Linked DNA regions of Homo sapiens: region 2 is linked to region 1. Evidence: promoter capture Hi-C in 16 types of primary human blood cells and fetal thymus (Javierre and others, 2016). All regions are on one chromosome and are shown on one strand. The core of a region is centred on a gene start or on the middle of the fragment in contact, and the rest is flanking DNA. Distances in the headings are between cores, read along the strand shown. Region 1 holds the start of PIP4P1 (phosphatidylinositol-4,5-bisphosphate 4-phosphatase 1). Region 2 overlaps NDRG2 (NDRG family member 2).

Region 1 (6,855 bases), core at 2,101-4,600:
GAAAGAGGAAGAGAAAGCAAAAATGTGTGTAGAGAAAAGGCCATTTATGCCACAGTGAGAAGGTGGCCATCTGTAAGCTAAGGAGAGAAGCCTCAGGAGAAAGCAAACCTGCCAATATCTTGATCTTGGGCTTCCAGACTCCAGAGCTGTGAGAAAATAAATGTTTGTCGTTTATGCTATCTATAGTGTTTTTTATGTCCTAGCAAATTAATACACCTCAATAGCCTAACTGTTCTCAATCTAAGTGAGAAGATCCCACCCCATAGGTAAAAATCAGGCAATACCTGAGACACTCAATATTTACCAGAGATAATATTAAAATGGCTTATCTGTAAAATACAGGTACCAACCAATCAGAACCAATGGCGCCATAAACAACCAATGCCAGCCACCCTGTAGTGCCCCAGCTGAATATCCTCCCTGCTTGCAACTGCAGCTAACAATATTGTTCAGTACCCAGCAAATTTATCCCAAGATGGGGCTTAAGTTACTTCATTAATTAATTAGAGAGCCATCTATCAAGCAGCTTCTATGTTCCAGGCATTTAGCATAAAAGGGGGCTCATCCCAAGCACCTTCTCTCTGCCACTTCTGTGCTTCTGTCCCTTTCAATCTACCTATCAAATTATTTGAATGTAAAATATTAGATCATAAGTCAGAAGACGGGGATTTAGAGCTCCATTTCAATCTGTCACTTAGCTTAAATGACTCCAGTTTACACAGCCTCAGTTTCCACATCTGTAAAATAAAGATATAGTCTTGCCTTCCCTGTCCACATCACAGTGGGTTCTGAAATAAAATGAATATAACTATGAATGTGCTTTATTGGCCGGGCACAGTGGCTCACGCCTGTAATCCCAGCACTTTGGGAGGCCGAGGCGGGTGAATCACGAGTTCAAGTGATTGAGACCATCCTGGCCAACATGGTGAAACCCCATCTCTACTAAAAATACAAAAATTAGCTGGGTGTGGTGGCACACACTTGTAATCCCAACTACTCGGGAGGCTGAGGCAGGAGAATCGCTTGATCCCGGGAGGTGGGCAGAGATCACACCACTGCACTCCAGCCTGGCGACAGAGTGAGACTCTGTCTCAAAAAAAAAAATGCTTTATTAACTGTGAGCAAGTTCCAAATATTATGATTACTTTTTGCATTTTTCTGCCTATTGATCTACTCAACAACACAGAGCTCAGATCCTAGTTATCCATGCACAATACTCATTTTTCTTTATGTTTTAGAAGTTTTCTCTGGCTGCTCTAGCTAGAAGTGATCTCTTCTTTTCTTGAACTTGAATTACATTGTTTAATTCTTTTATTATGAAGCATGTGCTGTATCATGAATTTCTAGTATTGATATTTTTCCATGTAATAAAATACTAGTGCTGATTTTCTTTTTTTTTTTTTTTTTTTTGAGACACGATCTTGCTCTGTTGCCCAGGTTTAGATCATGGCTCATTGTAACCTTGAACTCCTGGGCTCAAGCAATCCTCCACCTCAGCCTCCCAAAACACCGGGATTACAGGCATGAGCCACCACTCCTGACCTGATATGTTATACTGTCAATGTTTACACTATTCTGTCTCCCTACCCAGAGTGTAAGCTTTTTTAAGGAGTGTCTTTCACAAAGTGTAGATATTTAAAAAATATTTTTAGGACAGTTTTTGGAATATATGTGTAACTAGGGCGCAAATAATGGATCCTACTCCAACCCCAGACAATGCTTGAGCATCTGTGTGCCACAAACAGCAGAAAAAGCAGCAGACTGGCCTCCCTCTATGGAGCTACAACCTCTTCCCTATTTTGTATCTGGAGCTTCCTTAGTTCTTTAAGTGTCTGTTAGGGGCTCTTATCTAACTGGTCGAAGGTTACTAGCTTCCAAGTAGAAGTTGGCCTGAGAAAACCCTGTCTAAAAAAATCAGGACCTAGGTGAAGTCTCCAGCCCCTGTAGCAGCCAAGTGCTGGGACATCTGCAGTTCCTTTGTTATTACATATTTGGGGCTGGCTGTACTTTCTTTGATGCACTTCCTTTCTTAGTGGAGAGTCTGCTAGCCAAACTGATAATGGACCTCCTCGGGGTTTATTGTTTTTATCAATTCCTTGTTGCTTCCCATATTTAAAGCAGTCCCAGTTTGGGCTATGACTTGGGAAAAAATCCAGGTGTGGTTCAGGCGCCCATAAAGACCACACGAGACTTCAGGTAGGGGAGGAGGCACTGCCCCTTTGCTGGAAGCAAAGTTGAGACAGGCCTAAAGACTGTCCCATCTGTCAAATAAGGTGACGAAAATAACCTTGTATTTGATTAATCCAATCTACAAACTTGTGCGTATGTTAAAGGTTGGTGGTCATAAAACTGAGTAAAGGCACGGTGGCTTGTCCCTGTAGTCCCAGCTACTGGGAAGGCTTAGGCAGGAGATCAAACTCAGGAGTTTGAGTCCAGCATAGGCAAGACCCCATCTCTATTGAATTTTTTTTTTTTTTTTTTTAGTAAAACGATGAAATCTTCTAGTAGTGGAGACACTAATGAAAAGATAATTTAACAATTTGATCAGCAATGGGGAAAGACGGGGCTCTGTAAGGACAGCTTCCAGGAAAACCCAGTCTTGTGTCCTGTCCTGAAAGTGACTCTAGCGACAAAGGCTGGAGTGATAATCTTAACTTTTTAATCCATTTCCTTCTGGTACCTCATTACTCTGACTTTTTAAAGGTACTTCTTTGAGTAGAACAGCTAACTTTGTCTACTGTTCCCCACCGTCCATTTTCTCCCCGCTCAGAAGATCCCAAGCTTCCGCACTCCTTTATTGCACCCGCCCAGCCTCCTTTAAAATGCATAAGCCACGCCCCCCATGTTCTGGCGCTAAGTTCGGGCCAATGCAGTTGCGCCGCTAGGATCACAGGACGAAAGAAGTAAAGTCACCAGCCAATAGGAAACCAGCTACAACGCAAAGCCGGAGAAAAGTGTTTTAGTGGTGTCTTTGAACCAATGAGGAGCAGAGCAACAGGGACCGTGCAGCTTCCAGAAACACGTGACCAGTTGAGCAGACGCAGCCTAGCCCTACCTCCTGGTCTGGAGGTAGCGCGATGGGCGTCGCTCCCAATAGCTTGCAGAACCTCTAGTCACGTGCAGGTTTTGCAAGCCCAGCAGCATCTGGCAGGTCATGTGACAGTTGACGTTTGTGCGTCGCTCCCCAATGGAAAAGGAGAGCTGCCTTCACAGGACCAGGAATTGGTTTATCTACGCGAATAATAGCATGACCCGGGCGGGGATAGCCTATCACGTGCTGCTAGACGGAACGGGGCGGGGCAGGCCACTGGTTGCGGAGTGAGCTGGGCGCGCGGCGCGCAGGCGCCCTGGGGACCCGGTAGCGGCGGTGGCGGTGGCGGCGGTGGCGGTGGCTGCGGCGACGGCAGAGGCGAAGGGAGCCGGATCGCCGACCTGAGCGGGAGGCGGCGGTGGCGGCCATGGCGGCAGATGGAGAGCGTTCCCCGCTGCTGTCTGAGCCCATCGACGGTGGCGCGGGCGGCAACGGTTTAGTGGGGCCCGGCGGGAGTGGGGCTGGGCCCGGGGGAGGCCTGACCCCCTCCGCACCACCGTACGGAGCCGGTAAACATGCCCCGCCCCAGGGTAAGCCGGGGCGGGTCCGAGGTGCTCCCCGGGGTACTCTGAAAGCCGGGGAGGGGGCGGGACCGAGGGCGGAGGCGGGTCCCAGTCGCCAGGTGCGGGACTGCTGCACCTGTGACTGGGCGAGGCTTCCTTCCCTCCGTAATCGCGACCACAGCCTAGGGACGGAAGGGGGTTCTGAGCAACCTGATAGAAGTGCCAATTATGAGAAGCCCTCCGAGCTTGGTCAGAGGGTTGAAGATCAGAAGGACTTCCCTACCACCGTGGAGCATCAGTGGGGGTGTAAGTGATCCCAGCCCTTCTATTTGCTTCCTCTCCAGCATTTCCCCCGTTTCCCGAGGGGCATCCAGCCGTGTTGCCTGGGGAGGACCCACCCCCCTATTCACCCTTAACTAGCCCGGACAGTGGGAGTGCCCCTATGATCACCTGCCGAGTCTGCCAATCTCTCATCAACGTGGAAGGCAAGATGCATCAGCATGTAGTCAAATGTGGTGTCTGCAATGAAGCCACCGTGAGTTACACATATCTATGAAATGGGCCCTGTTTCCTGGATCCTCTTTCTGATGTCTTGGTTCTAGACCCTGACCTTCCGGCTATTAGCCAAGTGCTTTTGATGATACCCAGGTTTCAGTTCCAGGTGTCTCACACAGCCATTTCCCCAGAAGCCACTCACCAAAGCTAATGTTCACTTTCTCTCACTTTTACACCTAGCCTAGTTCCTATTTGCAAATCTCATGATATAGTCTTTCTTTTATTTCTCCTTCCTGGTTAGCACCTTATTTTTCTGATCTCATAAAGTGTTTTTGGAGGGAAGTGGAGGGGATTGGGATTAGAGGTTTGCTTGCTGATGACCCTATTATTCTCTAGCCAATCAAGAATGCACCCCCAGGGAAAAAATATGTTCGATGCCCCTGTAACTGTCTCCTTATCTGCAAAGTGACATCCCAACGGATTGCATGCCCTCGGCCCTACTGGTAAGAGGCATAAGGTGGGGAAGGGCCTAAGTGGGGAACTGGAAAGTCAAAAAAGGATGAGCGTATACAGAGAATGTAAAGGTGAGAGAGCCTAGTGTTTATTTAGGAGAAAAGGCTTTGAAGCATGTGCCTCAGGAATGTTATAGCTGTCTTTCTCGTTTCTCAATAAAAATATTGAGATGAAATGATGTCGTTTCGGAGAATAGAGAGCCTTGGGGACTGGGTGTGTTATCCTGAGGTCGGAGGGGAATTGGGGACCTGAAGTTTAAACAGTGCTCTTTCTTTCTCAAGGATTCTTGAGGGTATACAGTTGGGGGACAGAGTATCTTAAGTACAGAGAAGTCGAGTGACTTAATAGACAGGGAGTGGGGGATGTGGAACAGGGACTGTGAAGATTTTTAGGATTAAAAATTTTTCAAACACAAGTTTGAAAATACAAGTCTTTTTCTTTTGTATAGCAAAAGAATCATCAACCTGGGGCCTGTGCATCCCGGACCTCTGAGTCCAGAACCCCAACCCATGGGTGTCAGGGTTATCTGTGGACATTGCAAGAATACTTTTCTGGTGAGGAAGGGGTATTGGGAAGGGGAGGGGAAAGGAGACTAAGAGTCATTTCGAGTATATTTCTTAGAGTAATGGTAATGACCCCTGAAAGGTCTGTCCTATGGGAACATGTTCTGCATCCCCACCCCAAGGTTCTCATTGAGGGAGACCCTGCTTGTGCTATTATTTTTGTTTTCTTTCTCCATAGTGGACAGAGTTCACAGACCGCACTTTGGCACGTTGTCCTCACTGCAGGAAAGTGTAAGTGATTAGGGATTGAGCTGGTAATTGATGTATGGAGTAAAAACTACAAGGCCATAGAAAGCATCCATTTCTATTTGCCTCCCCACAGGTCATCTATTGGGCGCAGATACCCACGTAAGAGATGTATCTGCTGCTTCTTGCTTGGCTTGCTTTTGGCAGTCACTGCCACTGGCCTTGCCGTGAGTACCCTTGCCCCAACCTCTTTCATTCTGCAGCCTCATCTCCATAGGCTAAGATTTGGGAAACTGCTACCCTAAAAAAAAGTGGAAGAAACTTGGGGGACTAGTTTGTTTTGTTTTAAGATATGGATGAGCTAAAGTGCAAAGTGGCTGATCAAACAGACTTTATTACTACTACAAGAGTGAAAAACAGCCTTCCTTTCTCTGTAGGATGAGGATAGGACAGTGAAATTCTTAATTTAAGAGTTGCTATTTTTCAAACCTGGCTCAGTTGTCAGATATTAAGAAAAACTGAGATACAGTGTGGGATGGGATGAGTATGTTACGCCTAAGGGAAGGAAGCTGATCAGCTCTGCCTTTAAGAAGGTCCCTGAGGGTGGCTACATGTGGATAAGGAACAAGGACTGAAGCGTGAGTTATTACTGTTCTTAGAACTAATAGGAGGTAGTGGAGACCAACATTAACCCCATCTTTCTTTTCTTCTCCCTCCTTATCTTCATCAGTTTGGCACATGGAAGCATGCACGGCGATATGGAGGCATCTATGCAGCCTGGGCATTTGTCATCCTGTTGGCTGTGCTGTGTTTGGGCCGGGCTCTTTATTGGGCCTGTATGAAGGTCAGCCACCCTGTCCAGAACTTCTCCTGAGCCTGATGACCCACAGACTGTGCCTGGCCCCTCCCTGGTGGGGACAGTGACACTACGAAGGGAGCTGGGGTAGTTAAAGGCTCCCGGGGCTTCTAGAAGGAAGCCAAGCAGCTGCCTTCCTTTTCCCTGGGGAGAGGTAGGAAGGAACCAGGCCCTCACTTAGGTTTGGAGGGGCAGATAAGAGCACTGCTGACCATCTGCTTTCCTCCAAGGGTTGCTGTGTCTAGGGTGAAGTAGGCAAAACGTTGCCCTTAAAACTGGGCCCTGAAGACGGTTCCAGCCTTGTCCTTCCTGTGTGCTCCCTGAGAGCCATTCCTGTCCCTTACACATTCCAGGGCAGGGTGGGGGTGGGTAGCCCTGGGGGTTCCCCTCCCTCTTGTGCACCATTAGGACTTTGCTGCTGCTATTGCACTTCACCAGAGGTTGGCTCTGGCCTCAGTACCCTCAGTCTCCTCTCCCCACATTGTGTCCTGTGGGGGTGGGGTCAGCCGCTGCTCTGTACAGAACCACAGGAACTGATGTGTATATAACTATTTAATGTGGGATATGTTCCCCTATTCCTGTATTTCCCTTAATTCCTCCTCCCGACCTTTTTTACCCCCCCAGTTGCAGTATTTAACTGGGCTGGGT
Region 2 (6,855 bases), core at 1-2,500, 550 kb before region 1:
CCCGGGGCACACCATGGAGGTCTCCTGTTGAATGGCCCTTGTTGCCCTAGAGTGGGACCCAGCCCTCACCTCCCCCAGAGCTAACCTGGGAGGTGCTGAAGGGGCATTGGGCCACCGTAAGCAAGGGAAAAAGGGCAGATCATGCGGGGAGATGACCTTGATCTTTGATTGCTACCCTAACCTTGACCTTTAACCCGTGATTCCCCCCAGCTCCTGGAAGAGATGTCCTAATATCTCTTAGGGACCCAGACCCCTAAATTCTCCTCCTCCCCCATTTTGATGTTAAGGTGGAGAGGGCATATGCATCCTCTGTCCTGATCTAGGTGTCTATAGCTGAGGGGTAAGAGGTTGTTGTAGTTGTCCTGGTGCCTCCATCAGACTCTCCCTACTTGTCCCATATTTGCAAGGGGAGGGGATTTGGGGCTGGGGCTCCATTCACCAAAGCTGAGGTGGCTTCTCATTAACCCTTTAGGACTCTGAAGGGTATGGACCTACGTGAATGTGTGTCAGGGGGAGACTTGCTGGTGGGTTAGTGGTCCTCAGGATGTGATAGAAACATCCAGTGTAAAAAGGAAGTTGGAATGGGAGTTGGCGGGCAGTGAACGAGTGTGGGGAAGGATTGGTGCTGGGGCAACAGGAAGGGGCCTGGGGCCGTTTGGCTGCACTAACTTTGGTAGCTCAGTGTGCATCTAGAGTGGGACTGGGGAGGGAGCTAAGCTTGGGCTGGGCTGCTTGGGGCTTGGCATAGGGTGGAAAGGGCTACCCTGGGGCTCTGACCACACTGTAGTATGTGTGGAGGGTGCCCTCCCGTCTCCCACAACTTCTGCTATAACAATAAACTGTAGAGGAATCTGAGTACCGTTATTATTCTTTGTCTAGGTGTGCCTGCATCATGCTCCTCTTCCTATCTTCTCCCTGTCCACGTCTCATATTCTCTTCTCAAAGTGATATAAACCCTGGGAGAGGGCCTTTGTGGCATAGGCACTTCACAAAATATGACCACATAGAAACTGGCTCTTTTCCAATACAACGGTGTTGCCTTGATATTGTAGTATTTTTAAGCCTGGGAGAGAGGAACCATTTAGATCTTAGGAGACTTCCTTATCAACTATGGGTAACTGAGAAAGGCCACAGGATTTCAGAGATACCACCAACATCACCACCTTTAAGAAAGAATTGAAGAGGCTGGGCAAGGTGGCTCGCATCTGTGATCCCAACACACTTGAGAAGCTGAGGTGGGCAGACCACTTGAGCTCAGAAGTTTGTGACCAGCCTGGGGAACATGGTGAAACCCCGTCTCTGCAAAAAATACAAAAATTAGCTGGGCTTGATGGTGCACACCTGTAGTCCCAGCTACTAGGGAGGCTGAGGTGGGAGGATCACTTGAGCCCAGGAGGTGGAGGTTGCAGTGAGCCACGGTCACACCACTGCACTCCAGCCTGGGCGACAGAGTGAGACTCCATCTCAAAAAAAAAAAAAAAAAAAATTGAAGAAGACTGATGACAGAAGTGCCCAAGGATATCTTGAGACCCACCTTCCTGTAGGATCCTCCCTAGGGGGTCACCTAGATTCCATTTTGGATGTTTTAGTGCAATCAGTAGACCAGGGTGCATGAACTTAACTGTAAGGGGTGGGCTGCTCATAGTTCATTCTGATCTGAAGACTCTTTCAGGAGGGGTGCAGCAAAAAGGAGGATTTATCTTGAGAATTCCTCTTCCCTCATGGAATCCAAGGGATCTGGGAGCTAATTAAGTCTATGTTTGTGGTTTATTAGGAAGCTTTTTCACAACTATGAACAATGAAGAGGAATTCTTATTTTGCAGCTGTTGCAGGCTGATTCTTAGGGTCTTGAGGCACAAGAAGTAAAAATGAGGAGGCACCTTGTAGCATTATTGACAACACTACTGTGATGGACTATTACAAGGTCTTTTGCTAGATTGCTTTACAGAAACTCCACAGGCAATTATACCCTTTCCTCAATGAAACTGAGCTGAGGACTAATGCACTTGATGTCTGGTGCTGACACACTGATTGACATGGAAATAGGATATGGAATATGCCCTTGATTCTTGAGCATTTCATCACTGTCCTTCATAGAACTGGGTCTATTTTAAATGTGGTAGGCCAGGGTCAGAAGGGGAAGCGGAGGTATTGGGTAACAAACAGGGTTATGGAGCTCGCTATTGGATGCTGAGGGTGTTGGGTGACCACACGCAGGGCAGGCAGCAGAGTGCGAAGCACCACACTGAAGAAAAGAAGCGGCATAATTGGAATCAGTGGGGACCAACTAGCTTCTCGGAAAAACACAAGGAAAAGGCAAAAACCTATAACCAGCATCAATCTTTACTGGCAATAGCTGCTGTTGTGTATTATGGATGGGAAGGCAAGTCTTTTCTGCATATCTGCCTACATAGATAACACTGTCAGCAGGGCAATCTCTACAAATGGGAGCACATTACATGTATGTGTAGATAGGTGAGTGTGTGCATACACATCTATCATGTAGGTGGGTGTGTCAAATGGGTGATGACTGTGTGTCTTTCCCATAGATGTCTCTGCATAAGAAATCTGAGTTTGGTAGAGAGAAAGATGCCCTCTGCTGGGAGCTAGTCGTGGGGTGGGGGTTTTGTCCTTGACTGACCTCTCTACTCTGTTGGAGAGCGACGAAAAGCTCAAGAATCAAGAGCATATTCCATGTCCCATTTCCATGTCAATCAGCTAAACATTCCAGTTTAGCCCATGGGGTCACAGTGCCCCCTTGTGGTTGACATGGTTCTTAATAACTTTCCCCAGTTCCCAGGTCCCTTGGTGTTTCCTCGGTCTTACAGCTCCATTGTGCTTTGTGGTTCTGTGTAGTAGCTCTATAGGAAGGAGGTCCTAATATCATGGTTGGCCATTGATCTTGACCATTTTCAAAATTTTCAAGATCAGAGCTGGTCTCCTCTCAGAGGAGAGGAGAGGTGATTTTACAGAAGCAGAACCACAGACTCCCTACTTTTTGTCTCTGCTTCAGGTTTAGGACCCCTGTTTCTCTCTTCCCCTTATTGTCAAGGAACGTGAGTACTTCCCAGACTTTAGGGACAAAATCCCAAGACAGCTAAGAGAAGATTCAATGGGAAAGAGAGTAAAACCGGAACAGAGTGAAAAGAGCCTTATGGTTTCAGCTTGAAAATTCTGGATTTCACGAAGAGATTTTAAAGGGTGAGTCTCTGATGGTACACTGAACCTGCAGTAGGAGGGATGGATGTTAGCCATAAGAGAGTATATGAATGGTAAGGGAAAATACTGGAGTGGGAGACACCACCTTCCTTCCTCTTTTTCCTTCTCTTTCTTCTTTCTTTCCTTCTTTCTTTCTTTCTTTCTTTCTTTCTTTCTTTCTTTCTTTCTTTCTTTCTTCTTTCTTTTTTTCTTCTTTCTTTTCTTTTTCTTTCTTTCTCTTTCTTCTTTCCTTCTTTTTCTTCTTTCTTTCCTTCTCTCTTTCTTTCTCTGTCTTCCTTCCTTCCTTTCTTTCTCTCTTTATCTCTTTCTTTTCTTTTTCTTCTTTCTTCTCTTTGTTTTTTTTCAGATAGGGTCTCACTCTGTCACCCAGGCTGGAGTGCAGTGGTGCAATCTCTGCTCAGTGCAACATCTGCCTCCTGGGCTCAAGCAATTCTCCAATCTCAGCCTCCTGAGTAGCTGGGACCACAGGTGTGCGCCACCATGCCCAGCTAGCTTTTTGTGTATATATAAATATATATATTTTTGTGTGTGTATATATAGATGTGTATTTATGTATATATATGTGTATATATGTATATATAGTGTAAATATATGTGTCTATATATGTGTGTGTGTGTGTGTATTTATTTATTTTTTTGGTAGAGACAGGTTTTCCCCATGTTGTCCAAGCTAGTCTCAAACTCCTGAGTTCAAGTGATCCGCCCGCCTCAGCCTCTCAAAGTGCTGGGATTACAGGCATGAGCCACTGTGCCTGGCTGGGAGACACCACCTTTCTAGAGCAATTTTAGGACTAACTAGAAAGTGAGAGTCAGTTCTGACTAGAGGCCAGGGTATGGTGAGGGCAAATAGTGCCCAGAGCAATGTCATTTGTTTGTACCCTCTCTCCTCACTAACATCAGAATTTCCCACTAATTGGATAAATACATAGTAAAAGTTGAATGTCCTGTGTACTTGACATTCAACAACTGTGAAGACAGTAACAAAGAACACAATTTAAAATTTTTAAAAATCAACAACCAGCATTTTATAAGCATTCCCACACTGGTGCCTGGGGTTTCAGGTGTCATTCCTCTCTGCACCTCTTTGGCTTCCCCCTTGCTAGTGGCAATGGGCTCCCCGCTCAGGTCAGTCAGGGGGAACGTGAGGGTGTCTGGCTGGTTGTCACACTCACACATACAAACCCACTCACACTCTGGCAGCTGTTCCTTGTACCTTATCAGACCAGAGGCAGGAGCAAGGGACTGTTTCTTGCAGTGAGGGTGGCAAGACATTCTAAAATTGTCCTTCAGGGTGAGGTGAAGTGGCACAAACTCTTGTAAGAGTTTGTCTGGAGCTCTTTGGTTTTTGTTCCTGGATGTGTCTTGTCCTTGTGTGTTGATCTCTGACTGACCTCCCACACTACTCCCAAAACTCTGGTTTCTCTCTGATGCTATTCCCCATCTCTCTTTCTTTACACATTGTCATCCTACAACTGCAATATTCAAATCAAACCCTCAGCTTGAAAGCAAAGGAAAGATGAGTTCCAAAGGGTTACTTTAGAGAAAAATGTACTGGTGGCAGAAATGGAATGCTGGCTCTAGGAGGGCAGTTGGAGGTATCGTTGTTCTATATTCTTCCTCTTTAAGTATATACAAAGTACATGTGTGGAGTGGAGAATGAGGGGTAGGGACAGAGGACAGGGATTGGGGAGACTTGAGAATGCTCTACATAAATCCTCTCCTGACTATTCCAATTGGTTTTCCCTCATCCCTTTTCCCATCCTGCACGTCCTTCCTCTGATTTTTTTTTTTTGGAGACAGAGCCTCACTCTGTTGCCCAGACTGGAGTGCAGTGGTGCAATCTCAGCTCATTGCAACCTCCGTCTCCCAGGCTCAAACAATCCTCTCACCTCAGCCTCCCAAGTAGCTGGGACTACAGGTGTGCACCACCATACCCAGCTAGTTTTTTGTATTTTTTGTGTGTATATATATATTTTTTATTTTTTTTTGTAGAGATGGGGTTTTGCCACATTGCCTGGGCTGGTGTTGAACTCCTGAGCTCAAGCGACACGCCTGCCTTGGCCTCCCAAAGTGCTGGGATTACAGGCGTGTGCCACTGTGCCTCGCCTTTTCCTTCTTTTTTTATTTTTTCAGCTCTCACCATTCTAGTTACCATTTGTTATAAGCTATCTCTTAGGGCTGAGTGAATCAAGGCTTACTCCTGAATCAGGTTTGCAGTCACCATGCCCTGGGCATCTCGGCTCTCCTTCCTGTCCTAGGGTTCTTATGCCTGTTCTTATTCCAGCCTTTCTTGTTTTAATCTCATTCAGAAATCACATTCATCTTCTGCTTCCGTATAACCCTCTCTGGCTCCTTGCTGGGAATTCATATCTTCTGAAAACAATCAAAAGGTTATTTCAGTTTCCTAGTCCTGATGTTCTCCCTGATATTCTCTACATGAGCCATTCTCTAGTTTTATTCTAGCTCTTGAAACAATATGGTTCAAACTAAAGATGGTTCTGTTCCTGGTTGGTAAGAATTTTGGAAAAAGGAAAGGAAATAGCCATGGAAAGGAAAGAAAGCATTGATGGCTGAGGACAGAGGAGACTAAAGCAGGAATCCAAGGGCTCCTGGGATAGAAGGAGGCAGAAAGTTCAGGACTCATCCACCTATGCCTGACATATCCCAAGCTCTACCTCATTTACCTCAAATGCCGGTAGAGACCCAGAACATGGTGAGGAGCTCCAACAGTCTAATGTACTTCTCCTTAAGTCTCCTTTCTGCAGCCATACAAATCCTCTGTACTAGAAATAGCTCTCTAGCTTTCACATACATTTGTACCTTTCAATTCACCCCTCCCAAAGTCCTAGCAAGATCACTCAAGTTGAAAGTAGCAGAGAATGGATGGTATGTGGAACACCTGCTTGCCCCTTTACATCTGGGTATTATGCTCTGTGCCCCATGAGGCTTACCTGGCTGCAATGCACCAACAGAGATTTTTGTCCTCTGGCTTCTGTTTGGGTTTGGCAGGAGATCAAAGAGTAGGAGAGTAAATTTTTTCCCCTGGTTCCTCCTTGTTGGGTCCCTGCAAGTTGGCTGCATCCCTCCACCAAAGGCCACAGCTCGTGTTGGATGGCCCTGTCTAGTTTCTGACAACTGCTCCCTTCTCTTCAGCCTAGGTAATAGCATTGTTTTTATTCAGTCCCAGGGTGTTGCCCCATGATTTGTTGCTTTGTTCAAACCCACACCTTCCTAAATACTCCCTTTATTAATATCACCTCAATCATCTAATGTACTATCTGCTTTCTTCTGGGATCCTAACATATAGGCTGGGGAGATGGGAGGATGTGGTAAGGAAAAGGTAATGAGGGAGAAGAGAATCTATACATTGAAGTTTTCTTAGAATCACGGAAACATGGGCTTGAAACCCAGCTAGCTCTGTGATCAAATTATTTAACTTTTCTGAATGCCAGTTTCCCTGGACTTACTGTGGAGATAATGTCTACCTGTTGAGGTTATGAAATATTGAGTTTATCAGGTACCTTCAGGCATTTGTTCATCCATTTACATTCCAAGCCCCCAGGGATTGTGGATTGTCTAAGGAAATTATTGCTTTCTAGGAGTTTCAAGTAGTCTTTGACTAGAACTAGAAGCAACA

What was found. Contacts are between HindIII fragments. The CHiCAGO score rates a contact against its expected background, and 5 or more counts as called.
Region 2: a fragment that was not itself captured here is called in contact with the fragment with the promoter of PIP4P1 in region 1 in 1 of 17 cell types (M1 macrophages); the score reaches 5.6 in M1 macrophages.

The regions. Positions count from the first base shown.
Region 1 is chr14:20,457,929-20,464,783 of GRCh38, reverse strand. PIP4P1 (phosphatidylinositol-4,5-bisphosphate 4-phosphatase 1) reads left to right here and starts at 3,350. Exons shown (of 7, transcript NM_144568.4): 1 at 3,350-3,600; 2 at 3,939-4,129; 3 at 4,486-4,592; 4 at 5,051-5,156; 5 at 5,344-5,396; 6 at 5,488-5,578; 7 at 6,082-6,855. The coding sequence starts at 3,459. The coding sequence ends at 6,225. RefSeq lists enhancers at 2,686-2,765, 2,098-3,063, 3,066-3,135, 3,064-4,030 and silencers at 3,256-3,665, 3,726-3,895. The HindIII fragment of the contact is 6,669 bases long and covers 2,784-6,855 here.
Region 2 is chr14:21,010,772-21,017,626 of GRCh38, reverse strand. NDRG2 (NDRG family member 2) reads left to right here. Exons shown (of 16, transcript NM_001320329.2): 16 at 1-855. The coding sequence ends at 31. Among named protein-coding and RNA genes, the nearest start is that of MIR6717, 9.2 kb to the left of the region's middle. The HindIII fragment of the contact is 1,061 bases long and covers 720-1,780 here.